6 separate regions of the Homo sapiens genome follow, and regions 2, 3, 4, 5 and 6 are each linked to region 1. The links are contacts of gene promoters, found by promoter capture Hi-C in blood cells and fetal thymus (Javierre and others, 2016). All regions are on one chromosome and are shown on one strand. Each heading gives the region's core, a stretch centred on a gene start or on the middle of the fragment in contact. The rest is flanking DNA. Distances are from core to core; before and after follow the strand shown.

Evidence for each region. The method cuts DNA at HindIII sites, captures the fragments that hold promoters and counts their contacts. A CHiCAGO score of 5 or more calls a contact.
Region 2: a contact is called between a fragment that was not itself captured here and the fragment with the promoter of MSANTD4 in region 1, in 1 of 17 cell types (monocytes). The highest score is 7.1, in monocytes.
Region 3: a fragment that was not itself captured here is called in contact with the fragment with the promoter of MSANTD4 in region 1 in 1 of 17 cell types (total B cells); the score reaches 7.3 in total B cells.
Region 4: a fragment that was not itself captured here is called in contact with the fragment with the promoter of MSANTD4 in region 1 in 1 of 17 cell types (naive CD8 T cells); the score reaches 5.6 in naive CD8 T cells.
Region 5: a fragment that was not itself captured here is called in contact with the fragment with the promoter of MSANTD4 in region 1 in 2 of 17 cell types (non-activated CD4 T cells and naive B cells); the score reaches 5.5 in non-activated CD4 T cells.
Region 6: a fragment that was not itself captured here is called in contact with the fragment with the promoter of MSANTD4 in region 1 in 1 of 17 cell types (total CD8 T cells); the score reaches 5.2 in total CD8 T cells.

What each region holds. Positions count from the first base shown.
Region 1 is chr11:106,019,764-106,024,847 of GRCh38, reverse strand. It overlaps MSANTD4 (Myb/SANT DNA binding domain containing 4 with coiled-coils), which reads left to right and starts at 2,608. Exons shown (of 3, transcript NM_032424.3): 1 at 2,608-3,886. RefSeq lists enhancers at 2,067-2,136, 2,967-3,086 and a silencer at 2,527-2,636. The HindIII fragment of the contact is 3,155 bases long and covers 659-3,813 here.
Region 2 is chr11:104,843,177-104,848,260 of GRCh38, reverse strand. No RefSeq gene overlaps it. Among named protein-coding and RNA genes, the nearest start is that of CASP4, 120 kb to the left of the region's middle. The HindIII fragment of the contact is 551 bases long and covers 2,005-2,555 here.
Region 3 is chr11:104,892,508-104,897,591 of GRCh38, reverse strand. It overlaps the pseudogene CASP12. Among named protein-coding and RNA genes, the nearest start is that of CASP4, 74 kb to the left of the region's middle. RefSeq lists an enhancer at 2,372-2,900. The HindIII fragment of the contact is 4,621 bases long and covers 26-4,646 here.
Region 4 is chr11:104,954,862-104,959,945 of GRCh38, reverse strand. It overlaps CASP4 (caspase 4), which reads left to right. Exons shown (of 9, transcript NM_001225.4): 2 at 4,945-5,084. Among named protein-coding and RNA genes, the nearest start is that of CASP4, 11 kb to the left of the region's middle. The HindIII fragment of the contact is 2,362 bases long and covers 1,646-4,007 here.
Region 5 is chr11:104,972,607-104,977,690 of GRCh38, reverse strand. No RefSeq gene overlaps it. Among named protein-coding and RNA genes, the nearest start is that of CASP4, 6.6 kb to the right of the region's middle. The HindIII fragment of the contact is 1,634 bases long and covers 1,744-3,377 here.
Region 6 is chr11:105,010,754-105,015,837 of GRCh38, reverse strand. The region is part of intron 1 of CASP5 (caspase 5); the gene reads left to right. Among named protein-coding and RNA genes, the nearest start is that of CASP5, 9.9 kb to the left of the region's middle. The HindIII fragment of the contact is 2,323 bases long and covers 1,068-3,390 here.

The sequences.
Region 1 (5,084 bases), core at 1,359-3,858:
CAATAAAGCTGGAAACAATTTAAAAACAGGTAAAATTAATTTTAATAATATATTTTTCTTAACCTAATTATGCAAAAATTATAATTTCAACTTATAGTCAACACAAAAATTATTAGTGAGATATTTATTTTTTTCATGCTAAATCTTGGAATCCTGCATATATTTTACACTTACAGCACATCTCAATTCAGACACTATTTTTAAATCAGAAATACTTGATCTATATTTAGATTTCAAAAAGTTTACAATTGAAAAAGTATACACATAACCCAAATTTTCCAAATAGAAGTATCTAGTAACTTGAATCAAATATCAGTTTTTAAATTAAAGTTAATTAAAATTAATAAAATTAAAATTCAGTTATTTGGTTGTACTAGCCACATTCCAATGACTCATCTGGCTATCACAGTTGGACAGCACAGTTGTAAAGTAAGTGTGTAAGTATCTTTGGGTCAAATCTCTAGCCTGGACTTAAGAAAAATTAAATCAGCAAACAGGTTGATCATGGAGTACTGATAGTACACATTATGGATTACCTTCAAATTCTTCATTGTTGGTCCATATCCACTCAGACAAGATGTAGCTGAGAGGAAATAGTGAGGGTATTTGGAAAAGATACTTCAATTAGCAAAGAGACTGAGGTTAATTGGGGAAAGCTTAGAGTTCATGATACGAAAGCAAAAGTTTGTTAATACTGATTCACCATTCTTGTCCCCATTACTGAGGTAAATAAACAGAGTCAAGTGGTGGACAGGTTCTGAACAGAACTGATAGTGTCTGGTTATGATGGGGATAGCTAGTTATCTTACTTTCTCACTGCACTCATCAAAAAAACACCACCCACCATGAACAAAATCCAAAATTATAAAATACAACTTGTATTTTTCCAAAAATTACAAGTTTCTTTTGATCTACTTTGGCAAAAGTATAGACATGCTTCTTTGACAAACATGTCTATACTTACTGACAAAGTCATAAGTAACAATCTGTAAGATCAATCTGATCATTACATTTTAAAGAGCATATTTCATAATTACTTCCTATTTTATGGGAGAGTTCCTCCAAGAATATCCAGCAAGGATGCACCATTCCTCCAGAATATTCCACCATTTATTTACCAAATCTTTTTTGTCTGTTACATTCTAGGCACTGTGTTATTCACAACAGTAAACAAGAAAAGCCCCACCCACATAAAATATGTGGGAAGTGCTGTCAGAGGAAAGGCCGTGATGAGAGCTCGCTGAAGTAGGCTTGCAGATTTAGTAAACAAAAATTTTTATTTTTTTAAATTTAGCAAATAAACATATGGATACCAAATATTCCATTGGACAGATTAAAAATTATTTGCTTTTTATCTGAACTTCAAATTTAACTGAGCGTCCTGTTTTTATCTGGCAAACCTACAGGGAAGGGAATACTTGGAAGTGGAGGGAGGGTGAATGGAGATAATTTTGGAAGCCTTCCTTTAGAAAGGAATTTCTAAAAATGAATGCTAGGCATAGCGGAGAAGCAGGGAGGAAACACAGCAATGCAAACTGACTTCCCAGTAGCCACTGTAGAGTTCAGGAACTGAAAGAAGCAAAGGGAATGGGGTAAGGAAGAAGAAATGTGGGTATAATGTCGAGAGATGAAGGTTGAGGGAAAAGTAGGTGCCTTATTTTTCAGGTTCGATAAGGAGTTTGTACTGTATCACCAGTGGTGAGATTCCACTAAAAAACTTTAAGCAGCTCATTTTGGCTACAACGTGAAGAATGAACTACAGTCCGGCAGACAGGATGTTGGGAGACCAGCTAGGAGGCTACTGATGGAATTCAGGTGAGTCCACAGAGGCCTGGACAGAGGCAGCGGGAAGAAAGGTGCACTAATCACAAACACCTGAACGTGAGACGGCAGAAAATAAGCAACTGCAAACTTGAATATAGAGGAGGACTGGGAGAGAAGAAAGCAGAAGCACATATTTGGGGAAACAGTGAAGAATGGTAAAAAAAAAAAAAAAAAAAAAAAAAAATTCAAATGTCTTCTGGGAAGTATATAGTATGATAAGGACTAAGAAGTGACTCCTAGATTTAGCCATAAGGAAGTCACCAGCGACCTTTGGCACGGGCAGCCTTAGAGGAATGGCTGAGGCCAATTAGGTCGCAGCTGGTCGAGGAGAAGGTGATGCTGGCCTAAGAACCCGACTGGAGCAGCACAAGTTTCCTACTTCTTCTTTGCCCTTTTAACAGGTGAGGGTCAAGGACAAGAGACGAGTTTGGAGATGCAGCGGCCAGTGCCCCAATCAGTTGGAACAGCGCAGCAAGCGGATCTCTAGGGGCCAATCCCTTCCTAGAGTCCACTTGACTGACAGAGCTGCGCGCCACAGACGGGGCACAGACAGGGAGGTGAATCACGAGGGGGCGGAATTCCAGGGCACTAACCCGGAACCGGTTTGGGACTTGATTCCCATTGTGAGGCCAGGCCTAGGGCGGGCTCTCAGCCAGAATGGCTACACCATTCTAACCAATGGATGAGACTCATCAAATGAGCGGCAGCCATATGAGCCATTGGGGTGGCGGGAGATGGGCGGGCCCAGTTAGTGGGCGGGGGATCAATGAAGCATCTTTTTTCCTACCCCCCTTGGGGCGACCGTGGGGAGGTGCCGCCGGGGTCGCAGGTGAGCGGTTCTATGCTGGAGGAGGCGGCCAGGGAAGCGGCGGCTCCGTGACCAGTGGGTGCCCTCGCAGTGGGTAGGGTCCCGGAGGGGTCAGCGGCAATTGGCGCAACGCTTGCTGCCGGGTTTGGTCCAAGGGCTGCGACGTAGCGGGACTGCACGCTCGGGAGAAGTGCCACGCGCGTCTGTCGCCTGACCGGGGAGGCTGGGGAGGGCCCAGGCCACGGAAACAAGACTGCAGAAGTTTCTGGGCACTCAGTCGGGACTCTCATTTAATACCCAGAGAGAGGAGATCTTCCAGGTTGCCCCGACTCCCACCGGGACTCCTACCAGCAGCAACCTCATCATTGTGGCCGAGGCAGGTGCGCGCCCCTGCTCCCCTGGGTGGCCTTCCGGGAGCCCAGTCTAACTCGATTCTTCCCAGGGGCTCTTTTTGGACGGTCCCAAAGGAGGCAGCGGGAGGGAGGTGAAAGATACTTTGATAACCGTCGACCCATAAGTATACTTGTTATGCACCTACCACGAGTTTTAGAGAAGAACATACTTTTTGGCAGGGAAGTGAATCCCCTATAAGAATATAGGGGAGGGGAAAGCCACACTTTAAAGAGAATTTGGGTAGGGTTTGATATTGTAGATTTGTGATGCTTTTCTTCTTGAACTGCTTAACTAATTTACCCTCAAATTTTTTTGATCCGGAACTTGCCGTCTGGTTTTTCTCAGACTTCTTAATTCTGACTTATCATGAAGTATCTAGGAACTTCATTCTCAAGTTTTAGTGCTTGTAAAAAGTTGCCTGGTTATATTATGCCATTGGCAGTACATCATCTTCACAAGGATTACGTAAGTGAACTACATCTCATTCCTGTTTCCAACTAGTGAAGAACGATTGTGAAATGGGATTTTAGAAAATGGCTGTTCTCTGTGATTGGGCATAGAAGGTTTGTAAGTTTTAGAGACTGCAGCTGTTGAATCCTTTCTGCTAAGAGAGCGATGACAGGCAATAGAAAAGGGATAGTGTTTGACATCTAAAATGACATATTTTCACATTTTATGAGGTGTTATATCCCCAGCACCAAAAATAGTGCCTTTCACACAGTAGGAGCTCAGTAAGTATTTTTTGAGGAAATTATTGGGGAATGAATGGATGGTAGAAAACCCAAGCTTCTGTTACTTGGATACCGGCATATAAAGGAGAGGACAGGAAGACAAACATTTCTGGAAATGGCTTTTATCCAGGTAAGCATATCTACAGAACTTCAACAACTCAAGATGCATCAATGCTGGCACTTTCTTGCACTTAATCAGAAAATATCAAGGTTTTAGAAGAAGATTTTCACACAATTAAGCCAAGACTGGGTATCTAAGGTGCATCCCAATATCAATTTCAGTCAGGTTAAAAATGTATTAAAGCCCATTTGATTAAATGAAATAGTTCATCAGTTCAGAATAGATCAGTCAGGACAACGGGATACCACTTTGTAAGTTAGAGATATGGAGTTAGGAATTGTTGGTCAAAAATAGGCCCTGCAAATAGCAACAGCTGCTGTCAAACTTTAAAAATATATTGACTCAGTGGTACTTCAAAAGGACTGCTATTTCTACCATGTACCAATACATTTACAACAATGCGATTTCTAAATTGATCTCAGATTCTAAGAGCAAAATCTTACGGTGGATATCTGCATAAATTTGGACTCTCGACAACTTCAATCATTTTTATTATATACTTATATTGGTTATATATTTATATGTTACTACAGTAACAGTTCTTCCATATTAATGGTAGCCTGCTTGAATTTCAAAAAACTTTCACAGTTATATTTGTCTCTTTCAGTTCATTTTTAGCAAATAATAGTCTTATTAAGCCAGAATTCGCTTAGTAAGATTTGCTGCTTGGCACTATCCTAATTTTCCAGCTTTAATTCCTGATACTTCTTTCTTTTATTTCTGTCCCTCATTAGTCTGTTTTATAAGACCCAAATCAAATGCTGATTCTGACTCAAAACATTCCTTGATCCCATCAAAGATTTGTCTTTCTTATGAATATCCAGAGTATTTTGTTAGTATTTCTTTATTGTAGTTTTTGTATATTTGCATTATTCATCCAGTGAAGAAATATTTGTTAATTACATTCAGATACTGTACTGGGCAATGGATAATAGCTGACATTTGTGGGCTTACTATGTCTTAGGCATGATAAACTTCTTAATCGGTTTATCTCTTTTAATCTTCAAAACATCACGAGTATTAGTCTATTATTCCCATTTATAGATGAAGAAACAAGTTTAAGAGGTTAAGTAATTCGCTGGAGATCACAGAGCTAGTTAAGTGGTGGAATTGGCATACAGCCTTAGGTAGTCTGTATTCACAACCTTCAGGTTACAGACTTCATTACAATTTGTTTATGTACTTTTTTTATGCATCTGTGTTTTAC
Region 2 (5,084 bases), core at 1,031-3,530, 1.2 Mb after region 1:
AGACAGAGACAGACCTTGGAGCAAAACCTCAAGATAATGTTCCTCCAACAGCACCATAAAACAGCTATCTATCTGACCTACTCACAAAAGAGGTCTTTTACTGCATCCTTTGCCAAACTGTATACTCTCACCTAGGTTTTTAAAACTTTCCTGAAATTGAATAGCTACGATTATATTTACACTATTTACCTCACATTGTTGTTAGAATCGAATCATCCAATAAGTAGGGAGGTGTTTTAAGAATAATGCTATCCAAATGTATTATAACAAAGGATGCTCTTAAATGCCACATTTTCCAAAAGAATAGAAAAATTAAAAAACTTTTAAAACACAGGAAATACAGCAACTTATATAAAACCTTCAGGGATATGTAGGAAATGTAATGAGGATACATCTCTAAGAACAAAACAAAGGTAAGCAAAGCAAACTTAAAAAAAATAGGGTCAGATCCACAAAATATCTATGAAACGATCATCAGAAAAGAACACTGCTATATTTTCCATCTGTCATCTCAGACTACCTATGTCTCCAATCAGACATTAGGCTCTGTTTTACAGATGAACCAAATTCTACAGTTAGAATGTTTGCTCCAAACACAGCTGGATTAAGGAAGTGTCACAAAATATTAGATTATTTTAGAGCCAAGGGAAGTCTTTCCTCTTTACACATAGTATGAGATTGCCCTAGGCTGGGTGCCATGGCTCAGGCCTGTAATCCCAGCACTTTGGGAGGCCAAGACAGGTGGATCACTTGACGTTAGGAGTTAGAGACCAGCCTGGCCAACGTGGCATAATCCCATCTCTAGTAAAAATACAAAAAAAGAAAAAATTAGCTGGGTGTGGTGGTGGGAGCCTGTAACCCCAGCTACTTGGGAGGCTGAGGCACAAGAATCGCTTGAACCCAGGAGGCAGAGATTGCAGTGAGCTGAAATCATGCCACTGCACTCCAGCCTAGGTGACAGGTGAGACTCTGTCTCAAAAAAAAAAAAAAAAAAAAATTTGCATACGGCTAAGCAGTTTTCCCAACACCATTTATTAAATAGGGAATCCTTTTCATACTGCTTGTTTTTGTCAGGTTTGTCAAAGATCAGGTGGTTGTAGCTGTGCTATCTTATTTCTGAGATCTCTATTCTGTTCCATTGGTTTATGTGTCTGTTTTGGTACCATTACCATGCTATTTTGTTTACTGTAGACTTGTAGTATAGTTTAAAGTCATGTAGCATGAGGTCTCCAGCTTTGTTCTTTTTACTTAGGATTGTCTTAGTTAGACAGGCTCTTTTTTGATTCCATATACAATTTAAAGTAATTTTTTCTAATTCTGTGAATAATGTCAATAGTAGTTTAATGGGAATATCATTTCTTTGGGCAGTATGGCCATTTTCATGATATTGATTTTTCCTATCCATGAGCATGGAATATTTTTCCATTTGTTTGTGCCCTCTCTTATTTCCTTGAGCAGTGGTTTGTAGTTCTCCTTGAAAAGGTCGTTCACGTCCCTTGTTAGCTGTATTCTTAGGTATTTTATTCTCTTTGTAGCAATTGTGAATGAGAGTTCATTCATGATTTGGCTCTCTGCTTGTCTATCGTTGGTGTATAGGAATGCTTGTGATTTTTGCACATTGATTTTTGTATCCTGAGACTTTGCTCAATTTGCTTATCAGCTTGAGGAGCTTTTGGGCTGAGTAGATGGGGTTTTCTAGATGTAGGATCATGTTGTCTGCAAACAGAGACCATTTGATTCCCTATTTGAATACTCTTTATTTATTTCTCTTGCCTGATTGCCCTGGCCAGAACTTCCAATACTATGTCGAATAGGAGTGGAGAAAGAGGGTATCTTTGTCTTGTGCTGGTTTTCAAAGGGAATGCTTCCAACCTTTGTCCGTTCAGTGTGATATTGTCTGTGGGTTTGTCATAAATGGGTCTCATTATTTTGAGATATATTCCATCAATGCCTAGTTTATTGAGAGTTTTTAAAATGAAGGGATATTGAATTTCGTCAAAAGCTTTTTCTGCATCTATTGAGATAATCATGTGGCTTTTGTCATTAGTTCTGTTTATGTGATGAATTACGTTTATTGATTTACACATGTTGAACCAGCCTTGAATCCCAGGGATGAAGCCAACTTGGAAAAAAAAAAAAAAAGATTGCTCTTCTGATTCACTGAAATTGAAACAGAAAGAAAGAAAAACACAACTTATTAGTCAATAATTTGAACTCCTCCTCTTAGCAGCATCTCCTGGTCAGCATTATAATAATTATTCAAAAGCAGTGATTCTGAATATGCAAAAGCAGTGATTCTGCAAATACTCTCAGAAATTCTCAGATCATTTGAAACATCTACTATAAGTTCTCAAAATAAATGAGAAAATATTACTGTATTATTTAAACAAAGTCCATTTCTTTGTTATAAACCACTGACTACACCCCAGGAATACTTCAAGGAAGAAAGGACACAAGAAGATTTCGGGGTAAGAGCTAAACAACTAGAAGTTTGAGGAAATCGATTTATTTAGTGGAAATGATTTTCATTTACTGATAGATAACATGGCAAAGCTTAGAAATTCCTATATCTTTATTATCTAGGAATTCATCCTCACATACTAAATTGGAGACACACGCACATGCAATAGAAAGCCTCAATTTTCTTTCAGAGACCTATGAGATGTAATGTCTTAGAATCCTGGTTTATTAACACTAACGCCATTAAAACTTTTGTAATATTTTGAAACTTGAATTTTAAAAAAAGGATTAAGTTATGAAGACGAGTAAAATTTTTCTGTATCCTGGTAATTAACTTGATGTAAATGAAGAGATGCAATTTAAAATTGTATATACTAGGATAATGATTTAAATGAATCTTAGCTAATACAGCTTATGAACTGAAAAAAAAATTAACAAGTTTGAAACTTAGCAAATGCAGAAAGTAACAGAAAGAAAAGCAAAACTTATTCATAATTACATCATTCATAGATAACCACAATTAGCTTTGAAGGTGTAGCCTTCCAGTTTCTTTAGCAAATATATGTTTTACGAGTGTATGGGTGTATAGTTCAGTTTACACTTGGGAATTTTTTTCCTTTTAAAAGCATATTGAAACTTTTGTCATGAGGTTAAATAATTTTTTCTAAAACAGTAATTTGAATAAATTATTAGTATTAATTATACAGCTATCCCGTAACGCTGTACTTAATGAATTTTCAATTATTAAAGTTTATTTTATTTTTAATGTTTCTATTGAATAAACAATGCTAAAATAAATATAATTCTAGATTAACCTTTGCCAATGTCTGGTTATGTCTCAGAGTATAAATGATTCAAAGTTATTTAGCCATTGAAATCACCCATTAATATTTTTAATATATTTTCTTTAAACTGATCTTCAAAAGTCTCTACCACTTTACAATTCCAGCTGACAATGTAAAAGAAAAGTCTGTTTTAAAATATTTTTGCCAATTTTGAACACAATCAATTCTTTATTCTTTGCCAATTTGCCAGACATATTTTTAAGATATCTTATGAGTTAAATCATATTTTCTTAGTGCAGTGGCTTAAGAACATGTGTATAGGAATTTGTCAGTCATAAACTTGTGATTCAACTCTACCACTAAGTAAATTTCGACAACATAACTTCCCTTTTTATTTCCCCATTTCCTCATCTGAAAAGCAGGTTTTATAATAATAATAATATTTTTATATACTTTTAAAATAATACTTTTATAATAATAATAATACTTATCTCCTACATTTGCTATCATGTTTAAATGGTTTAATTTAGCTCAGTGCTTGGCACATGGTAAATGCTTAATAAATAGTAGACATAATTTTGTTGTTACTAATAAAAGCACTACTGATCTAAAATTAATTTGAACTCTTTACATTAATTGAAAATGTTTATTTTTCTGAAATTCCACATTTACTTTTAAGACACTTCAAAATTATTGGAGTTTTATTTTTATTGGTTTATTAAAGTTCTTTAGTTTTAAGCTGCATCATTTTCTTCAACATAATATCTGAAATAAATACGTTATTGCTATTTGTCTTTATCCTTTTAATATGGTTTATGACATTTTCTGAACTTTGAAATTTTATAATTTTCTTTAGTGAAATAGTATGCATTTTCCTATTTAATTTTGCCTTTGCTTGTACACTTACAAAGGTTTTGCCATACTAAGATAAGTAATGGATATTAACATCAAAACACAATATCTAATTAAAGGATTATATGTGCTAAGAAATCTGGGCACCAGCAATATGCCATGACTGAGAATCTACATAGTTAACATTAGAATTTCTGAACAAGGTCACAAAACACATTTGATTATTTAATATTGTCGTGCATGAAAACAATGTATCAATAAAAACATATGCCAATGTCTGTTGAACAGTAAAACTAAAAGAACATGCTAATAGGAAATAAGGATTAGGCCAAATGTCAAAGGATATGCTTTGAAAGATTCATAAATAGTGATTAAAAATGTAGATTAAAATAAAACTATCTGAGTGTAATGTTCCTGTGTTAAATTATCCAAGAAAATTTGGTCACCATTACTCTCTACAATTTAAATTGATTGTTGTCAACATGTTTGCATAACATTAGAATACCCACAAAATGTTGAATTACTCTGTTTTAGAGGTTAGTGTTTCAGTTCCTTTTCTCTAAGAACATGCATTAAAAGACTTAAGTTTTTATTGTTTCTGAATGACTAATTTTTATTTTGATGAGCAGATTTCTAAAGCAATAAATTCCTCATGGCATATCTTAATTTTTTCTTTGTGTGTATTGGAGACATAGGAAATATGTTTTTTCCAGTTACTAGTTATAGATTCAACAATGCCAGAGAGACACTTCGGAAAACACTATAACAGACCTCAGGAGACAGCTGGGTCATTGAACATCATTATTTCAGAATCGTGGTCATACCTAGACCTTCAGACATTTGCATTTCAGTTAGCCTCGACACACTACACAGAAATCATTTCTTATATAGTCCTAAACAAGAAGACTCAACTACAATCTTTTCGTTATTTTTAATAAAATTCATGTAAATATTTAAGAAGAAAATACAGGCTTTTCTTCTTCTACA
Region 3 (5,084 bases), core at 1,087-3,586, 1.1 Mb after region 1:
TGCAGGAAGCTCTGCTTACTAAGCTTTCTAGGTGATTCTTATGCACGTTAAAATTTGGGAACCACTACCCTAGAATGGGGATCTAAAGTTCTGTCCATATCTAAGATTCTATCATTTTCACAGATGAGAAACCATCCAACGGTGTTCTGGTCCACATGGTGAAGTTGCTGATCAAGACCTTTCTAGATGGCATTTTTGATGATTTGATGGAAAATAATGTGTTAAATACAGATGAGATACACCTTATAGGAAAATGTCTAAAGTTTGTGGTGAGCAATGCTGAAAACCTGGTTGATGATATCACTGAGACAGCTCAAATTGCAGGCAAAATATTTAGGGAACACCTGTGGAATTCCAAAAAACAGCTGAGTTCAGGTGAGTATTGTGGGGCTAACAGCTAGTAATTCATTCTTATTCTTTCTCTACTCTTCTTATTCAGTTTTTGTCTTCTTTATTTTTCCTTTCTCCAAGTGGAGAATAAACTATGCCCATCTTAGGACCTTCTTCACCAATCTTTTTTTTTTTTTCTTTTTTTTTTAAGACAGAGTATTTTGCTTGCTGTTGTCATCCAGGCTGGATGGAGTGCAATGGTGCAATCTTAACTCATTGCAATCTCCACCTCCCCAGTTCAAGCAATTCTTCTGTCTCATCCTCCTAAGTAGCTGATTTTATGGGCATCCTCCACCATGCCTGGCTAATTTTATTTATTTATTTATTTATTTATTTATTTATTTATTTATTTATTTATTTATTTTTTAGTAGACACAGGGTTTCACCATGTTGCCCAGACTGGTCTCAAACTGCTGATCTCAGGTGATCCTCCTGTCTCAGCCTCCCAAAGTGCTGGGATTACAGGCATGAGTCACTGGGCCTGACCTCCTGTCTATCTTATTTAATGTCACAAAATACCTTGATCATCCCCAATTACTTTTACACTGCTGTATACTTTTTTCTTTAACAATACTCACCATATCACTCCATACAATTTACTTATTCATTATATTATTATGTCTCCCTCTGCTGAAATGTAGACTCCACCATGTGGGGGGTCTTTGTCTGCTTTGTTCATGAATATATCCCAAACACATGGAAATGATACCTGAAACATAATAGGTGCTCAGTAAATATCTGTTAAATAAAGGAATGGTGTTGGATACATTAAATTCAGTGATAGCCTTTAGCTATTCTGGGCTACTCTGGTTGCACAAAGTGGACGTTAGAGTCATTCCCAGATACAGAATGTACAATAGGGGATATCTATTATCTTTTGCTTAGCTGTGGCTTTGCCCCAGAAAGAAATGTCTGGAAATCTAGATTTCTATTTAAGGAAGGAATAGGGAATTCATGGGTCAGTGGGGTATAGATGTTTCCTTCTCTCTGGAACATGGGTTGCTACACTTTTTCTTTGAAAGATAATTAATATTTTAATCTTTCTGGACCATGTGGCCCCTGTCATGACTCAAATCATCTATTGTAGCTCACAAACAGCAATAGACCATAAGTGCATGATGGGTGTGTTGATGTGTATCCCAGTATAACATTATTTATAAAACTGGGTGTTGGGCTGAATCTGACCCATAGGCCATGGTTTGCTGATTCCTACTCCAGACTGTAATACATAAATAAGTATATTCCCAATTCTTGGATATGCATCAAGAAAAGGCCAGTGAGCCAGGATGTTTAGCCATAACTTCTCCCCAGAGGTGGCATTTCAGTACATACTTGAACTGTGGGGAAGGAGTTGTGCCAAACTCTGAAACAAAAGTGTTCTCTAGAAAGGGGAAACAAGAGCAAGGACCCTGAGACAGTAATGCTCTTGCTGTGTAAGAGGGTCACAGCCAATCTGACTGGAGAGTAGGAAATTAGAGGGAGTATAAATGGAGCTATTAAAGAGACAGGCCGGGATTTTATTTGCAATATAAAACGTTGCAGGGTTTTGTTTTTGCTTTTTTTTTTCTTTTTTTGGAATCTTTTTTAGACAACTGTTTATTAGCAGTCGAGGATCCTTACAAATTCCAGGAGTGTTGCATAGCCTCTGTTCTTCCTGGCCATCTATTACAGTTAACATCTATTTCTAAAACAAGTGCTTAAACTTGTGTGAGTATTAAAGAATGTTTTTATGGAAGCTAAGTTTTATCTTAGTTTACATAAAATAAGTTGACATTAAAAAGCAGAAGTAATATGACATATGATAAATTGCCCTGAGTAAGAACTTGGTACTCCCTTTTACCAAAATGTAAATAAGGTGTTTCCAACTGAGAGTTTTTTAAAAAATAAAGGAGCTTTTAATCTCCCACTTTTCTTTCTCCATCTCTTTCATTTTTCCTTTCTTATCATCTGTTTTATTTTCTTTCCCATTGACATTCTTTTTCTTGTTTCTGTTTTTTCCTTCTCTCTTTTTTTCCTCTGTTCTTTTTCTCCTTCTTTCCTTTTACTTTCTTCCCTCCGTACTCTCAATTCTCCCTTTAATTTCACTGCCAATTTTGAAATCATTACATGCTAATTGAGCCAAGTAGGTTGTAACTGCAAGGGCATGTCCTAATGTCTACAGCAGAAAAATGATAAATGATGCATCCTGCCTTCATTTACACTACCTTAGAAGCTGTTAAACGAGGAGTGATAGGATAAGCGTCGCATCACAAAGGCCAGTTGAAAGCGGTTTAAATATTTCAGTTAGAAAAACAATAGCTTTTAGACTGGGTTTATGGCAATAGAGCTGATGAAAAGTTGTTAAATTTGAGACCTAGTTTTGGCAGCAGAATCAATGCAAATTGACTAATGGATTGGATATGGGATGTGAAAGAAAGGAAAGAATTAATAATGACTAGGTTTTTGGCTTGGCAACTGGGGTGTATGGTGCCATTTACTGAGTCAGAGAAAACAGGTGTGCAGGGGACACAGATTTGAAGGAATGCACAATATCAGGGTCCTGTTTTGTATGCTTACTTTGGAACATGTGGTACCTCCAGTGGTGGATGTTGAATAGGCAAATGGATGGGCTCACAGAGAAATCTGGACTGGGAAAAATCTGGAGATTCGTCAGTATGTAGATAGTTTTTAAGATATTGAGACTGGAAGATGCCACATGGGAAAGAGCATTGATAGAGAATAACAGAGTGTCTGGCATAGAAAAGCACAACTTTTGGAGGCATTGTGGAAGAGGAAGAACCAACAACTAAGACAGACAGAGTTAGGAAGAATGGCTGGAAAATGCAGCATTACAGAAGCCTAGAGAATGCCATGTGAATGCTAAGAAATCAACATATAATCAGTGGTAGTTTGATAACTATATTTTATTTAAGGATTGAGGATAACAGCTGGATTGGATTGCATACAAAAATCATAAGACAGAAAAATTGGAAATAGCAAAAAACAAAATGATTTTCAGGCATTGTGTAGAGAAGTAAAGTAGTGATATGGGCCAATAATTGGCAAGGAAACAGGAAGGTTTTTTTTAAAAAAATGATATATATTAAGTCATGCTGCTGTCAATAGGAATAAGTCTGTGGGAAAAGAGGAAGAGAATGAATGATGTCATAGAACCTGAAGCTGAATAAATACCTGAGAAAAACCCTTGTTGGTGGGAGGGGATGGATTTGAGAGCTCAGGTAGAGGCGGTGATCTTAGATAGGAGGAAGGACACATGTTTTATGTAGCCAAAGAGAAAGTAGAGGAGGTGAGCAGAGATGTAGGCAAATTAATGGATTTGGTGGTTAAAAGATGAAATATTTCTTACCCAAAACTATGAAAAGAAATAGAAGGTTTGTTGCCCTAAGGGAACAAAGAACCAGGGGATACCTTGTAGCTATTTTCAAGTATTTGAGGATAACTATTCACTAACAGAATTTATAAACTAGCAATCTTGGTAGATACTATTCTAATATACTGGAAATACAAAGATAGAAGACCACCTTTTCTATCCTAATTAAGGTTATAGTACAGTAAACACAATTAAAGTACAATGCAATAGTTGTTTATGTTGAAGGTATTTTCATGTAAGAATGAAAAAATAGGGAAAGACATGTTGGTCATGGAAGAATTCATGGGCTTTTACAGGGAAATGAATTAAATGTTTTCTGTATGATTCTGAGGTGGGAAATACCTATCAATACCTAGAAGGTACACAGATTGTAATACACATAACTGTTCAAGAATGCCTTGGAATGTTTTGAGTTCCATGAAAGGGGAGATGTCTCAGAGAATGGTAATAATAAAGAAGGGATATTTCAAGTGACATGAAATAGCTGAGTACTGATTCCACTAGGCTAGATAAACATTACACTTCCTTCTGAATCTTAGTTTCTGTGTTTATACGATGCTAATGTGTTGGGTCTGAAAGATAAGTTCATGCTGTGAGCACTAACAAAAACACACAAATTGATAACCAGGTCAGTAAGAAGCAGAAGGAAAATAGGGATGTACTCAATATTTTTGCTTTAGGCATTTTAAATATGAAGCAATTTTCTCATTTTATGAAACTTTTTCATGGACTGGCAGTAAGCAGTTTTGAGGAATGAGAGCCTAGCAAAAGGATCTGCAGTGTTGCAAGGCAGCAGACATTACTGCTTACTATGCCACAGAATTTTTTTCTCTCTTTCAGCTTTTCTGGAAATCCAGGGTGCCCAACCCAGTGGCAAGTTAAAGCTTTGTCCTCATGCTCACTTCCATGAACTAAAGACAAAAAGGGCAGATGAGGTGATATGCTTTGAAATACGGAGACACAAGATTACTCATTCAGACAAGACACTGGGGACTTACTGGAATGGTTTAGCTCTCGTCACAAAGGCCTTAAGATCAGGAAATTATCTAACCAATTGGTCTTCACATTACATTTTCTGTTTCTTCCATCTTATTTTGGGACACAGTCTAAACTCTCCACCACCTAACTTAAGCCAACTTCATACAGTGAACACTTACACCACATACATGCTTTCAGTCTGGTTTTCTGCCTCTTTCCTCACGAGGGTGTATTTTCATGCAGAAACTTTGTGTCACTTACTCTATATTTATATTGGCCTGTTGTGTATGAACTTTGCAGGCAAAAGAGAAAAGTCCTGGGGAAAGTCATTCTGTGTGTATTAATT
Region 4 (5,084 bases), core at 1,577-4,076, 1.1 Mb after region 1:
AGAGTAGATTGATAAAGTTCTTATGAATTTATTTCTTAAGAAAGAAAGGATGTTGGCCCGAATAGAAGTAATGAACAATTAGAATTGAGAGAAGTGGTCAGATTCTGAAAATGTTTAGCAAATAAAATCGATGCAATGTGAATTAAGAAGGGAAATAAGACATAGAGAAGGCCAAAGAGGTTGAATATCACCAGGTATTGCTGCTCTTTTGTACTTGGAGTATAGGTATTATTTACTAGTATATGGAAAAGAGAATGAAGGATGGAAATGAAAAAATGAACAGTTCATCTTTGTAAGTTGAGTTAAATGAGGTTGTGAGATGTAGTTGAGATATCTCATTGTCTATTGAATGTATAGGTTTCAATACCGACATCCACATCTGGGCTGAATCCATAAATTTGAGAATGATTTATTTATTCTTTTAAGCATATAATGGATGCCATCAGAATGTGTAGATTATACCTCAGGCCATACTTTTAATTTACTTATTTATTTATTTGACAAATAAACATTGTACATATTTTCTATGTACAACCTTCTGCTTTTATGAGTTTAACCTGTTTAGAGTCTATGTATAAGTGAGATAATGTGATATTTTGTGTTTTGGTGCCTGGCCTGGCTTATTTTACTTAATATAATGTTCTTCATGTTCATCAATATTGTCAGAAACGATAGGATTTACTTCCATTTAAAAGCTGAATAGTGTTGCATTTTGTATATAATCCACATTTTCTTCATCTATTAATCTGTCCACAGACATTTAGGTTGATTTTATATCTTGGCTATTGTGAATAATGCTGCAATGGAAATAGAAGTTCAGATATCTCCTCGAGACACTGATTTTCCAATTTTTGATATATACTTAATAGTGGGATTGCTTGATCATATCTTTAGCTCTATTTTTAACTTTCAGAGGTGTCTCCATATAGGTTTCCATAAAGACCATGCTAATTTACTCTTTTTTTTTTTTTTTTTTTTTTTTTTTGAGACAGAGTCTCACTCTGTTGCCTAGGCTGGAGGGCAGTCATGGAATCTAGGCTCACTGCAACCTCCGCCTCTAGGGTTCCAGCAATTCTACTGCCTCTGCCTCATGAGTAGCTAAGATTACAGGCGCCCACCACCACGCTCGGCTAATTTTTGTATTTTTACTAGAAGCAGGGTTTTACCATGTTGTCCAGCCTGGTCTAGAACTACTGACCTCAGGTGATCTGCCCGCCTTAACCTCACAAAGTGCTGGGATTACAGTCGTGAGCCACTGCGCAGGGCCTAATTTACGTTTTACCAACAGTGTACAAGAGTTTCTTTTTTTCTACATCCTCTCCACCATTTGTTATCTTTTGTCTTTTTGGTAATAGCCATTCCAACAGGTGCAAAGTGATATTTCATTGTGACTTCAATTTCCCTGGTGGCTAGAGAGGTTGATCATTTTTCATATACATATTCTCTGTATGTCTTCTTTTGAAAAGTGTTTATTCTGGTCCTTTGCTTATTTCTAAATCAGTTTATTTTCTTTCTATTGAATTGTTTGTGTTCTTTGTATTTTGCATATTAATTCTTTATCAGATGTATGGTTTGCAAATCTTCTCTACCATACTGTTGATTATCTCTTTAATCTTTTGATTGTTTCTTTGACTGTGTAAAAGCTTTTTAGTTTGATGTAATTTCATTTGCATATTTTAGCTTTTGTTTCCTGTCCTTTTCTGTCATATCCAAAAATCACTGTCTAGACCAATGTTATGAAGCTGTTCCCCTCTGTTTTCTTCTAGTAGTTTCACAGTTTTGGTTCTTACATTTACATATTTAACTCATTTTGAGTTTATTTTTGTATATGTTTAGAGATTTTTATTCTTCTGCATGTGGTTTTACAATTTTCCCAATATCATTTATTGAAGAATTTGTTCTTTCCCAGTTGTGTGTTCATGAAACCTTTGTTGAAAAGTCAAATTAATGTAAATAATTGGGTTTATTTCTGGGTTTTCTGTCCTGTTCATTTGCTCTCTGTTTCTATTTTTATGCAACTATTGTGCTATTTTGATGACTGTAGTACTTTGTAGTCTATTTTGAACTCAGATAGTGCGATGCCTGCAGCTTTGTTCCCTTTACTCAAAATTGCTTTGCCTATTCAGGGTTTGTTTTTTTGTGTGTGATTCCATATAAATTTTAGGATTTGTTTCTATTTTTGTAAAAGCTGCCATTAGAATTTTGATAGGAATTGCATTGTATCTTTAGATTTCTTTGGGTATTAGGGACATTTTAATAATAGTAATTTTCCAGTCCATCAACTCAAAATACATTTCTACTTATTTTTGTCTTCTTCAGTTTTCCCTATCAATATTTTATAGTTTTGAGATTTGTTATTATTGCTGTTATTTTTGAGACAGGATCTCATTCTGTAGCCAAGACTGGAGTATAGTGTCACAATTATAGCTCACTATAATCTCAAATTCCTGGGCTTAAGCAATCCTCCTACCTCAGACTTCCAAGAAGCAAGGACTATAGACACATGCTACTATGGCCAGCCAACTTTTTAAATTTCTTGTAGAGACATAGTCTCACCATGTTGATCGGGTTGAAGTTTTATACTTTTACGTGTACTTGTTTTTTACCTACTCGGTTAAATTGATTTCTAAGTATTTTTGCAGCAATTTTAAATGGAAATTTATTTATTTTTTAAAGATGGTTTATTGTTATACAGAAACACTACAGATTTTTGTATGTTGATTTTTTTTATCCTGCAATTTTCTTGAATCTGTTTATTTGTTCTAAAAGATTTTTGGTGGATCCTTTAGGGTTTTCCGTATATAAGACCATTTCATCTTTAAACAGGCACAATTAAACTTCTTCCTTTCCAATTTTGATGCCTTTTATTTCTTTTTGTTGGCGAATTGCTCTGGTCAGAACTACGTTGAATGGAAGTGGTAAATGTGAATATCTTTGTCTTCTTCCTGATCTTAGAGAAAGGGTTTTCAACTTTTCACCATTGAGTATGATGTTAGCTGTGTGTTTGTCATATGTGACTTTTTTTGTTAAAAACTCTTCAATTTTATTGCTTATTATATTTCTTCACATATCATTTATTCAGTCAACACTATATTAGTTTACTGAGCACACAAATAAATAAAACAGAAGCCCAGAACTCAGGTAGTTTGGATATCCCACACACTAATCTGTGTACTGTTTGCAAATCACACTGTGTTGCAACATCTGTACCTGATGTTGCAAGACTAACATTTTTGCTACCTCTTCTCAGAAGCCTTTGTGATCTCACCTGTTGGAATGCACTAATGTTTTCTGAGCCCCTTAAATATCTTGTCTACATTCTTTTAAGAAGCTCTTCACCAACTGTCAGGTAATGTAGTTTGATGAATTAAGAATGGGGGCTCTGGATTCTGAACCCCTAGATTTCAATTCTTGTTCCCAGTTACTATATACTCGGTGTTCTTTTACATTATTTGAGTCAATTACTTATTATCTTCCATTTTCCATATAAGAGAGGTTAATATATGTTTTATATGGAATTTTTGTGAAATTTCAGTAATGCACTTGGCATGATGAGGGCTCAATGAATATTAACTATTTTAACTGAACCATATCATGATTAACTATATAGACTATGGTGAAAAAAACAAGATTTGAATCCTAATTCATGTGATGTGACATAAGTTATTATTTAAATGGTGAATATAAAATAGGGAATATAATAACTACCCCACTGGCTTATTGTGAGGGTCCAGTATATTAACATTTGTAAAACCTTTGGTACAGTGATATGTAAATGATAATGATGATTATAATAATGATTTAAATTGTTTTATATGCATTCATTTTTTATTTATAATAAGTACATGGGAGATATTACCCTTTACTAAGTTAATTTATATTATGTAACTTTTTTCCTGGTTTGTAATGTCTAATGTTTTTCTCATAATAGCTGCCCAATAAGCACGTATGAAAATATTAATTCAAGATAACCCAGACAATGAGGCTGGTGCTTCTGTGCCAAAGCTTTTGTGCAATGTCCTGACATGATTTCTTTAGATGTCATTTTCTGTCAGCACTATCCTTACATCTACATGGATTGTATAATTATCTTTGTAGCATTGATTGAGAATTGATAAGATATCCAGCATTTCTGTGTACAATCTGCCGAAATCATATCTGTTGTATTGAAACAAAGGATGTATTACTTTGGTATCTATATTTCCTTATAAATATTCAAATTACTCTAAGGAGTAATACATTAACATGGTGTCAAATTAAACTAATCCACCACACTGGAAGATTAGGAATCAGGTTACTTTCAATTTTAAATTTTCATTGAGAACAAGATTTGAAAGAATTATAAATATGGATGCACTCATCCATTTATTCTTTAATTTATGTATTTAGCAAGCATATTAAGTACTTTTAAACATTTTGAATACAAAGATGTGGGTATAGGATGTAAGTTAAAAAAATGCAAATTCAAAGATATAGTTCTTTCACCAAGAAAACTAAATACAGAAAAGAGTAAAAATCATATAGGAAGTAAAAATCTAGTAGGAAGAATTTATATTCTAGACAAGAGCATTGACTTTCCCGGGAATATATATTTTAGGCAGATCATTATCACTATGGGCCGTGAACCAGTAAAAGAGAAAAATGAATACAGTGGATGACCAGGAAGTTTGCATTAGGTCCAATGCCACAGAAGGAAGTTGAGAAGCTAAAAGAAAAGAAAAGAAAAAAGAACAAAAAAGAAAATAAAAAGTATTTAGTGGCAATAAATTGTTAAACAACCTGGTAGGAATATGATGAATGACAGAACTCTATAGGTACAAGAAGACAGATGGTGAAGTAGGACATACTTTCAGAAGTATTTCACATTATAGAACTATATCTAAAGTGAGGGTGAAACTCTTTAAGCTGTGCCCATAGTTAAAGGAATCTTTCTATTTCTAACAGAAGGCAACCACAGAAAAAAGCCACTTAAGGTGTTGGAATCCCTGGGCAAAGATTTCCTCACTGGTGTTTTGGATAACTTGGTGGAACAAAATGTACTGAACTGGAAGGAAGAGGAAAAAAAGAAATATTACGATGCTAAA
Region 5 (5,084 bases), core at 1,311-3,810, 1.0 Mb after region 1:
CTTGTTTCCCAGGCTGGTCTCAAACTCCCAGCCTCAAACAATCCTCCCACCTTGGCCTCCCAAAATATTAAGACTACAGGTGTGAGTCACTTCACCTGGCCTGCTGAATCTATTAAGGGTGATAATTTTATGAATTTTATGAATATTTTCTGAGATGAGACACTGATCATATCACCAAATATCCTATTCCTTCCTTACAAAACAATCAAAAACTTACTTTAAGTATTTTTTATTTTTTGAGACAGAGTTTCACTCTAGTTACCTATGGCTGGAGTGCAATGGCACAACCTCTGCTCACTGCAACCTCTGCCTCCCGAATTCAAGTAGTGATTCTCCTGCCTCAGCCTCCCGAGTAGCTGGGATTATAGGTGCTCGCCACCTCACCCAGCTAATTTGTTTTGTATTTTTAGTAGAGACAAGGTTTCACCATGTTGGCCAAGCTGACTTGAACTCCAGAACTCAGGTGATGCACCCGCCTTGGACTCCCAACGTGCTGGAATTACAGGCTTGAGCCACAGTGCCTGGCCATCTGAGGTCTTTTGTGTTGTTCTGATTCCTCTATGAAAAAAACAAGCATTTTTTTCCACCTAATGATTATTTCTACAGTTTTCTCCAAAATATTCATTCTAATTAGCTCTTATCTTCTCCAAAATTAACCCACTTAATGCTGCTTTGGTTTACCTAGCTGATTTTAAAGGAGTTTCTCAAATTCCATTTCCAAATTGAATATAATTTTCTCATTTTAATAGCTTAGTTTCTAAAAGAATCTCCAAATATCTAGTACATTTATTTATATTTTGAAACAGACAAAGATTACATTAATTTATTTATCAAATACATCACATTGTCATATGGTGTGGAACTTGTGATCAAATAAAATTTTCAAGGATTTTCTCACATAAACCTCTGTGAAAACTCTTCCTCATATGTTTATGAAAGCAATGTTTAGTGCTATGAAGTCATCTATTGTGCACCTTGATTTTAGCATTGATTATTTTATTTCATATTCATTCTAGTTTATATGCTCACTATTCTTCTTCTTCCTTCCCATATAGATATGTACTGAGAAGAAATCCTGAATGTTGGCACAAAAGCTCATTAGAACAATGTCTAATGCTTACTATCATGTCTAATAAGTAAATAAATAGATAGACATACATCTTGTAAAGACATATTTAACAAAGTTAATTAAGTCTTACTCCTATTAAATTTATCCTAGGGTTTGAATCTTTTGAAATCAACTTATATTGTAAAGATTTTATCTCACACATTGTTTTCTGAGTGTTTTGTTACGTCCGGCCTTGAAAATGCCCCTTTCTATGTTTTTGTCTAAAATATTTGTAAAAAAGCTGATGCTAGAATATTAATATAGATTCCTGCATTGCACCACTAAAAATCTCCTCTAGCTTGGGAAGTGTTCCATTAGCAGAGAATTCACTCAATGGTGTTAATGACTACATCAGGATTGTCCTCCTAAGAATGCATTTCTTCTTTTATGGCTTCACACATAGATGATGCTGTAAGGAACACAAAGTGGGACAGAGAAGAATCCCATTATCCACGAGGAATGCCATTCTTCCTGGGAGGGTTAGAGGTGAAGTTGATGTCAGAGATATGAAGATGCTGATAGAATCTCTGGGGTATAGCGTGGATGTGAATGAAAATGTCACTGCTTCAGTAAGTTTTATCATACACAGAGACAATGGTAATGGCTTTCATATTCCTAAATTATGTTAGAAAGCTTAGTTGTAGGACCAGAGAATATAATCTCTTCATAATCTAAAATCCAAATTTGCCATTGGAGGATGCCGGATGCTACATGTTCTCTTATAACATAAGGATTATTCAGCTAAAGCCTGGTATAACTTAATTGGGGAGTGTTTTATTAACTCAATAATGCTTCCTTCTCTCTATATCTCTGGATGATTTCCTATAACACTTTCTTCCCTTTTCTCCAAACTAAGACTAAAATTTTTCTTGCCTCTCCATTGTTCATCATAAAATTCCTTAAGAAATCCCTTATGTATTTATTTATTTGATTTCTAAGGTGCCATGATAGTGAATTACACAGTCCAAAATCAGTGGTATAGTGCCTTTTAGGAGATGACTACAGAGCTGAAGGCATTTGCTCATTGCCCAGAGCACAGGACCTCTGACAGCACTTTCCTGGTGTTCACGTCTCATGGTATTTGGGAAGGCATTTGTAGGAAAAAATACTCTGAGTAACTCCCAAATATATTAGAAGTCAATGAAATTTTCCAAATGTTGAATACCAGGAACTGTCCAAGTTTGAAGGACAAACCCAAGGTGATCTTCATCCAGGCCTGCTGCGGTGGTGAGTGCTAATGTCTTTAAGAACACCAGACATTCAACCACTGACTTCATCTGTATGCATCCAGGATTTTTCAGTTTCTTTATGTCTGTCTTTTAATGTCAAAGAACTCATACTGTCAGTACTGAAGATTGTGGCTTCTGTGAATTAGATGGCTGGCTGGTAGATATTCGTTCTGATGACTTTATCTTGCCCAAATTCCTATCTAAGGGGTCTGGGGAGCCAGGCCCTACAAACCATAAATTCTCATCAGATGGATTTTCTTTAACCCTGTGTATCGTGACTTTAGAATCTCACCCTGGCATATCATTATGTGACAAGGAGGAAAGTCAAAATATTTTACCCCAAAACATGTTTCTTTGCTATATTTTGAAATGGCCCTGCAAAGTTGTCCTTTGTGCCGGAAAATTTGCATCTGTAAAGAATCTCTGTTAACATAGCTAGATCATTTTCTTCCAGGCTTTCCTAATCCTGAAGAGATTAACTAAGAGTCTAGCACCTTTTAAAGGTCTGAATAGGAAACATTTGTCATCTGTTTTCTCTAAGGCCCGTCACTACAAGACTTCAAAAGAACCTTGGTCTCCACAATCTTTTATCTTAACCTGAGCATTTTCTTTCTATCGATTTTAAGTCTTTAGGCAAACTCAACCAATTATCAACCAGAAAATGTCTAAATTTACCTGTAGCCTGTAGTCCCACACTTTGAGTTGCCCCAACTTTTTGGACCAAATGAATGTATTTCTTAAATGTATTTAATTGATATCTCATGCCTCCCTAAAATGTATAAAACCAAGCTGTACCCCAACTACCTTGGGCATATGTTCTCAGGACCTCCTTGAGGGCCTGTGTCATGGGCCATGGTCACTCATATTTGGCTAAGAATAAATTTGTTCAAACATTTTACAGAGTTTTACTCTTTTCATTGACAATAATTTGGTGATCAAACATGTGGCACCTCAGAGAAGACTCAGGACCCGGAAGGAGTTGCCCAAATATGGAGCTATGGTAGTAGCAGGGCCCATTGAAGCCTACATGACTTCAAGCTTCTCATCTGGTGGAACTGGTAAGTCCTCCTGAGCCCCCGACTTCTCTTTGGTTGATGGTCTTTGATTTATCTTAGCTGGTTTTTCTCCTAGAAAGTTGTAGTTTCAGGATTTTAATTATAGTTTGGAGATGATTTTCAAGGAATTCTCTCTATTGCTTTGTCTCCCAAAATTAATCTTAATTCACTTTGCACATTTGCATGAGGAACTGAATTGTTGATTTCACCGGTTAATGAGAAACTGAGTTTTCTCAACTTTTTTTGAAGAGAAAGGGCATTTGCTCCTCCTAGCCAAAAGGCACCCCTGGGTATGTCTGGGGGTTGACCCCCTTGTGACATGCAGTAGCCCTGTAGGAAAATCCCCAACAAAAATTAATTATAAAAATGGCTTGTCCAGGAAATGAATATCAGGCTGATTACCCAGTGTTTTGAGCCCTCTCAGAGTTTGTAGAACTCTGGAGAGAGAAACTGAGACATGTACAAGGGTAGACCTGACTCAATGGTGACACACTGTAGAGTCCTGCCCACGAGCAGTACAAATCGATCCACCACACAAAAACCCTAGGCCACAGCTCAGTTTCTCCTTTTAAGAAAAAAAAAAAAAAGCAGGAAACAAATAATCTAAGAATGAGTAGAAAACAAGGAGGAAAAGCCTATTTTGAGCACTTTGTAGGTTTTTTTGGCACCTCTACTTGCCAGAGCATTGGGGGAAACCCATCCCTGATAATTCTTTGTGGGCACTTATCTATTTCCCTAAGTGTCGGCCAGTCTGAGAAATAAAGGGAAAGAGTACAAAAGAGAGAAATTTTAAAGCTGGGTGTCCGGGGTAGACATCACATGTCGGCAGGTTCCATGATGCCCCCTGAGCCACAAAACCAGCAAGTTTTTGTTAGTGATTTTCAAAAGGGGAGGGAGTGTACGAATAGGGTGTGGGTCACAGAGATCACGTGCTTCACAAGGTAGTAAAATATCACAAGGCAAATGGAGGCAGGGTGAGATCACAGAACCAGGGTGAAATTAAAATTGCTAATGAAGCTTTGGGCACGCATTGTCATTGATAACATCTTATCATGAGACAGGGTTTGAGAGCAGACAACCAGTCTGACCAAAATTTATTAGGTGGGAATTTCCTCATCCTAATAAGCCTGGGAGCACTATAGGAGACCGGGGCTTATTTCATTCCTTATGACAACCGTAAAAGACAGACATCCCTAGAGCAGCCATTTTAGAGACCTCCCCCTAGGAACGCATTCTGTTCCTTGCTGAGAAAAAGAATTCAGCAATATTTCTCCTATTTGCTTTTGAAAGAAGAGAAATACGGCTCTGTTCCGCCCAGCTCTCAGGCAGCCAGACCTAATGGTTATCTCCCTTGTTCCCTGAACGTCGCTCTTATCTTGTTCTTTTTTCAAGGTGCCCAGATTTCATATTGTTTAAACAATTTGTGCAGTTAACGCAATTATCACAGGGTCCTAAGGCGACATACACCCTCAGCTTACAAAGATGATGGGATGAAGAGATTAAAGTAAAGACAGGCATAGGAAATCACAAGAATATTGATTGGGGAAGTGATAAGTGTCCATGAAATCTCCACAATTTATGTTCAGAGATTGCAGTAAAGACAGGCATAAGAAATTATAAAAGTATTAATTTGGGGAACTAATAAGTGTCCATGAAATCTTCACAATTTATGTTCTTCTGCCATGGCTTTAG
Region 6 (5,084 bases), core at 980-3,479, 1.0 Mb after region 1:
TCCAAGGTTTACATCTCACCTCACAACATTTAACTGAAACTCCTAAAATGCAGGAATTGCTTGCTTTTAAATTTTTTTTTTTTTTGTCTATTTTATGATACTAAAAAGCATTTGGCCAGGGAGGAGTAAGTCAAATTCATAGCCATGGCTGCCTCTTTGGCCGGGCAGGCTGACTTTACTGGTCGTAGACTGGAGTCAGGAGAATCATTAGATAATAGATAGGAGAAATTGAAGAGCACTAATCAAAAATAAGTTAAGTGGGTTAATAATTATAAACAACCATGTGTAGTTGGTCTTTGTTAAATAAAACTAGTGAAAAACAGTATCCTATATAAAATGTGTAAGAACATCACATCACTTTGCCTAGGACCAAAACTGCTCTTGATGAATTTGGCCTCTAAATTATTCCATTCGTTTTTATTATCACTGCATCTTCAATTCATTGATTACTAAAATAACAAAAAGTAATCAATAAAAACTGTTTTTTAAAAATAATACTGTGTGATCGGTATCTCTTGCACTCTCTGTGACTGAATATTTAAAACCAGTCAGTTAAGTTTGTGCTATTATTGCCATTTTATAGTTGAGGAAGGTGTCTAGAAAAGGACTACGAAATTTTCTTTTGGTCTAATGTCTGTTGAGAAGAGTGAATCTAGGTTGGCCTGACTCTTAAACTCAACACTCTAATGTTCTGTCAATTTTCTGCAAACAAACATCTTCAAATGATGGCCCTATCTCATCACGCCCACTTCAGTCCTGGCTGCACACTTCAATACTTTCTAAAGCCCAGCTAGCCCAGCTTCCTGATTACTTTAGACACCCTAAAATCTTTGTGTTTCTTCCCACACTGCTCTCTGTTAGGGGACCAGCCCTCACTTGTCCAAGGGGCAAATTCCTCCTAGTCTTTCAGGTCTCAGTGCCAAGCCCTCCCTTCTCTGGACAGCTATCTTCTACCTGAAACACAGTGTGCTCATGCTTTTTTTTGAGCATCTGCTCGTTATTTAAATTCTTACAATGTTTTTTATTTGATGTATTTGCATATCTATCTTTCCACTTGACTGTAAGCTTGAACATGTAAGAACATTTCCTCAAAATGGTACCCTCACAACTAGCAGAGTATTTTTCACAAACTTTTGCTCACCAAATTTTCCAGAATGAATATGCCTTCCTTCTGCTTAAAACTTCCAGTGTGTGCTTATTGTCTATTAAATAAAATCAAACTTACTTACCTTTTATTAAATATTCTTCAAGAGTTGGGCCATACCTAAAATTTATTCATTTGTTTCTACATTCACTCAACTAGTGATTCAGTAGATAATTATTAGACTTCCCTTGAGTGCCAGAAGTAGTGCAGGCCTAGTTTATGGCCACCTATCCTCACAGAGCATAAAATCTAATGGTGGATGCTGAGAATTAGGCTGGAAATCACAATTAAAGGTAAAAAACTATGCTACCCTAAAGAGAAACAAGGTGCCCTAGGGGCATGTACCTCTGACATTGTCTCCCCTCAGAGAATCAGAGGATTGCCTGAAAAAAAAAAATGCCATCTGGTCTTAGACTTGGAGAATGAACAGAAAGTATAGGAGAATAGGAAGCAAGGAGAAGGTGGGAGACTGGACTAGACATTAAATGAAGAGCAGAATATTTTAATTGTAATGAGCAAGGTGGGGACAGTATCAGAAGATGAGGCTGAATGAGAAGGCCTAGGTTAGAATAAGCTGAGACGTTTCATGGTCAAATCTAGATATAGGAACACTCTTTATTGTGAAGAATAGAATAGAAAGGACAAAAAGAAGGTTTATAAGGTTCTTGGTGTAATTCAGAAAGAAAGGGTGTTGGCCTGAATAGAAGTAATGAACAATTAAAATTAAGAGTAGTGGTCAGATTCTGAAAATGTTTAGTAAATAAAATCAATGCAGTGTGAATTGAGTTGGGGAATAAGACATACAGAAGGCAGAAGAAGTTTAATATCACCAGGTTTTGCTGCCTTCCCGCACTTGGAAGTTAGGTATTATTTTTTACTATATGGAGGAGCAAATGAAGGATGGAAATAGAAGAAAATTAGCAGTTCAATTTTAAAAGTTCAATTGAATGAGGTTGTGGGAGTATTTTAAGTGACGTCTCATTTTTGGACGTATGGGTTTCCATACGGGATCCACATCTGGGCTGATCCATAAATTTGAGTCATTTATTTATTATTTTAAACTTATAATTGATGCTATGAGAATTTATAGATTATGAAAAGAGGCTCTCAAGCCAAATGTCTTGAATTGTTTTTTATAAATATTATTTTATTTATTTAATTGGCAAATAAATATTTTATGTACTTATGTACAAAATGATGTTTGAAATATATATTGTAGAATGCCTAAAGAGCTAAATAACATATGCATTACCTCATATGCTCATCTTTTTTTGTGATTACAGCACTTAAAATTTACACTGTCAAACAATTTTCAAGAATTCATCATTGACTATAGTCACTATGTGGTGCAATAGATTTCTTAAACTTACTTCTCCGATCTAATTGAAATGTTGTTTCCTTTGATCAACATCTCCCCAAACTTCCTGCCTCCTCCTAATCACCACCATTCTACCCTCTGCTTTTATGTGTTTAACTTTTGTGAGTCTACACATCAGTGAGATCATATAGTATTTGTTTTTTGGTGCCCAGCTTGGCTTATTTTATTTAATGTAATGTTATCCATGTTAATCAATGTTGTCACAAATGACAAGATTTCTTTCTTTTTTCTAAAGCTGAATACTGTTGCATTATGATACTTTCTCCATCCATTCATCCATCTACAGATACTTAGGTTGATTTTATATCTTGCCTATTGTGAATAATGCTGCAATCACAATGGAAGTGTATATGTCTTTTCAACACACTGACTTAATGTTTAAAATATATACTAAATATTTGGGCTGCTACATCATTTTTAACATTTTTAATTCATTTTAATTTTTAACTTTTTGAGGAGTTTCCTATTGTTTTTCATTATGACTGTACTAATTTATATTTTCACCAACAGTATACAAGAGTTCCTTTTTCTCTACATCCTTTCCAACACTTGTTATCTTTTTTTTTTATAATACCCATTCTAATCATTCTAACAGGTGTGAGGCATTATCTCATTGTGGTTTTAATGTCCCTGGTGATCAGAGATGTTGAGCATTTTGTATAGACCTGTTGTCCATTTATGCATCTTCCTTTGAAAAATGTCTATTTTGGTCCTTGGCTCATTTTGTAATATTTGTTTTCTTCCTATTGAATTGTGTTTCTCATATATTTTGAATATTAATATCTTATCAGACATATGGATTCAAATATTTACTCCTATTCTGTTGGTTATCTCTTCACACTGTTGTTTCCTTGGCTTTGCAAAAGCTTTTTAGTTTGATGTAATCTCATATCTTAATTTTGCTTTCTTTTCCCATATTTTTAGTGTTATATCCAAAAATCATTGTCTATACCAGTGTCATTAAGCTTTTCCACGTTTTTGTGTAGTAGTTTCAAAGTTTCAGTTATTAGGCTTATGTTTTTAATCCATTTTGAGTTGATTTTTGTATATGGTGGCAGATAAGGGCCCGTTTTCATTCTTCTGCTCTTGGATATTTAATTTTCCCAACATCATTTATCGAAGAAAGTGTCCTTAGCCTATTGTCTGTTCTTGAAACTTTGTCAAAAATAAATTTACTGTAAATAACTGGGTTTATTTCTGGCCTTTTTGTTTTATTCCATTGATCTCTGTGTTTGCTTTTATGCCAGTACTATGTTTGATTATTATAACTTTGCAGTATGTTTTAAAGTCAGGTTGTGTGCTGCCTCCAGTTTTGTTCTTTACTCAAGGATGCTTTGGCTATTTGAATTTTTAAATAATTCCATATGAATTTTAAGGTTGATTTTCCTATTTCTGTAAAAAATGCCATTGGAGGCTTAATAGGAATTGTATTGAATTCATAGATTTCTTGGGTAGTATAGACATAATAATGTAATATTTTCCAATTCATGAACACGGGATATCTTTTGATTTTTGTGAATCTCAGGCATTTTCTTCTGTCAATGTTTTATAGTTATGAGTATATACATCTTTAACTTTTTGGTTACATTTATTCCTTATTATTTCATGAAATTTTTTTATAGCCATTATAAATGAGATTTTTATCATCCAATTTTTTAGTTTGTTGTTATAAAAATGATACTAATTTTTGCATGTTGTTTTTGTATCCTTCAACTTTACTGCATTTGTGTATTAGTTCCAACAGATTTTTCATGGAGCATTTAGGGTTTTCTTAATATATGTAAGATCATGTCATTCATAAACAGGACACATTAACTTCTTCCTCTCCTATTTTGATGCCTTTAAATTCTTTCTGTTGTCTAATTCCTCTGGTTAGGATTTCTAGAATAGAAGCGGTGAAAGTGGGTGTGTTTGTCCTCTTCCTAATCTTTGAAGAAAAGCTTTTATCTTTTCACCATTGAGTATGATGTTAACTGTGTGTTTTCTATAAGTGGCATTTATTGTGTTGTAAACCTCTTTAGGTTAATTGCTTTTCACATGTCTCCACATATTCATTCAGTCAAAACTATATTCATTTACTAAGCATGCAAGTAAGTTAAATAGAACTTCAGAACTCAGGCAGAGTAGACATTCCATTAACTAATCTGTGTACTCTTTGCAAATCTTCACATTCCCTGTTCCAACATCTACATTGCATTTAAAACCAACGTTTTTGTCTTGTCTTCTAAGAAGCCTCTGTAAACTCTCCTCCTGGAATTTTCTCATCTTTTCTGAGTTCCTTAAGCATCTTATCTGTGTTCTCTTAAGAAGCTCTTCAACAACTATCATGTAATGTAGTTTCATGACTTAAGAGTTGGGGCTCTGGATTCTGATCACTTGTACTTCTATTCCTGCTCCGGAGTTACTGTATACTTCATTTTCTTTTCACAGGATTACACTCAATTTCTTAAGTAACTTATCTGTATATGTTTCCTTTTCCATATAAAAGAGGTTAATATACATTTTGCATGGAGTTTTTGTGAAATTTCAGTAAAGCACTTGACCTCATGGGGGTTCAACATA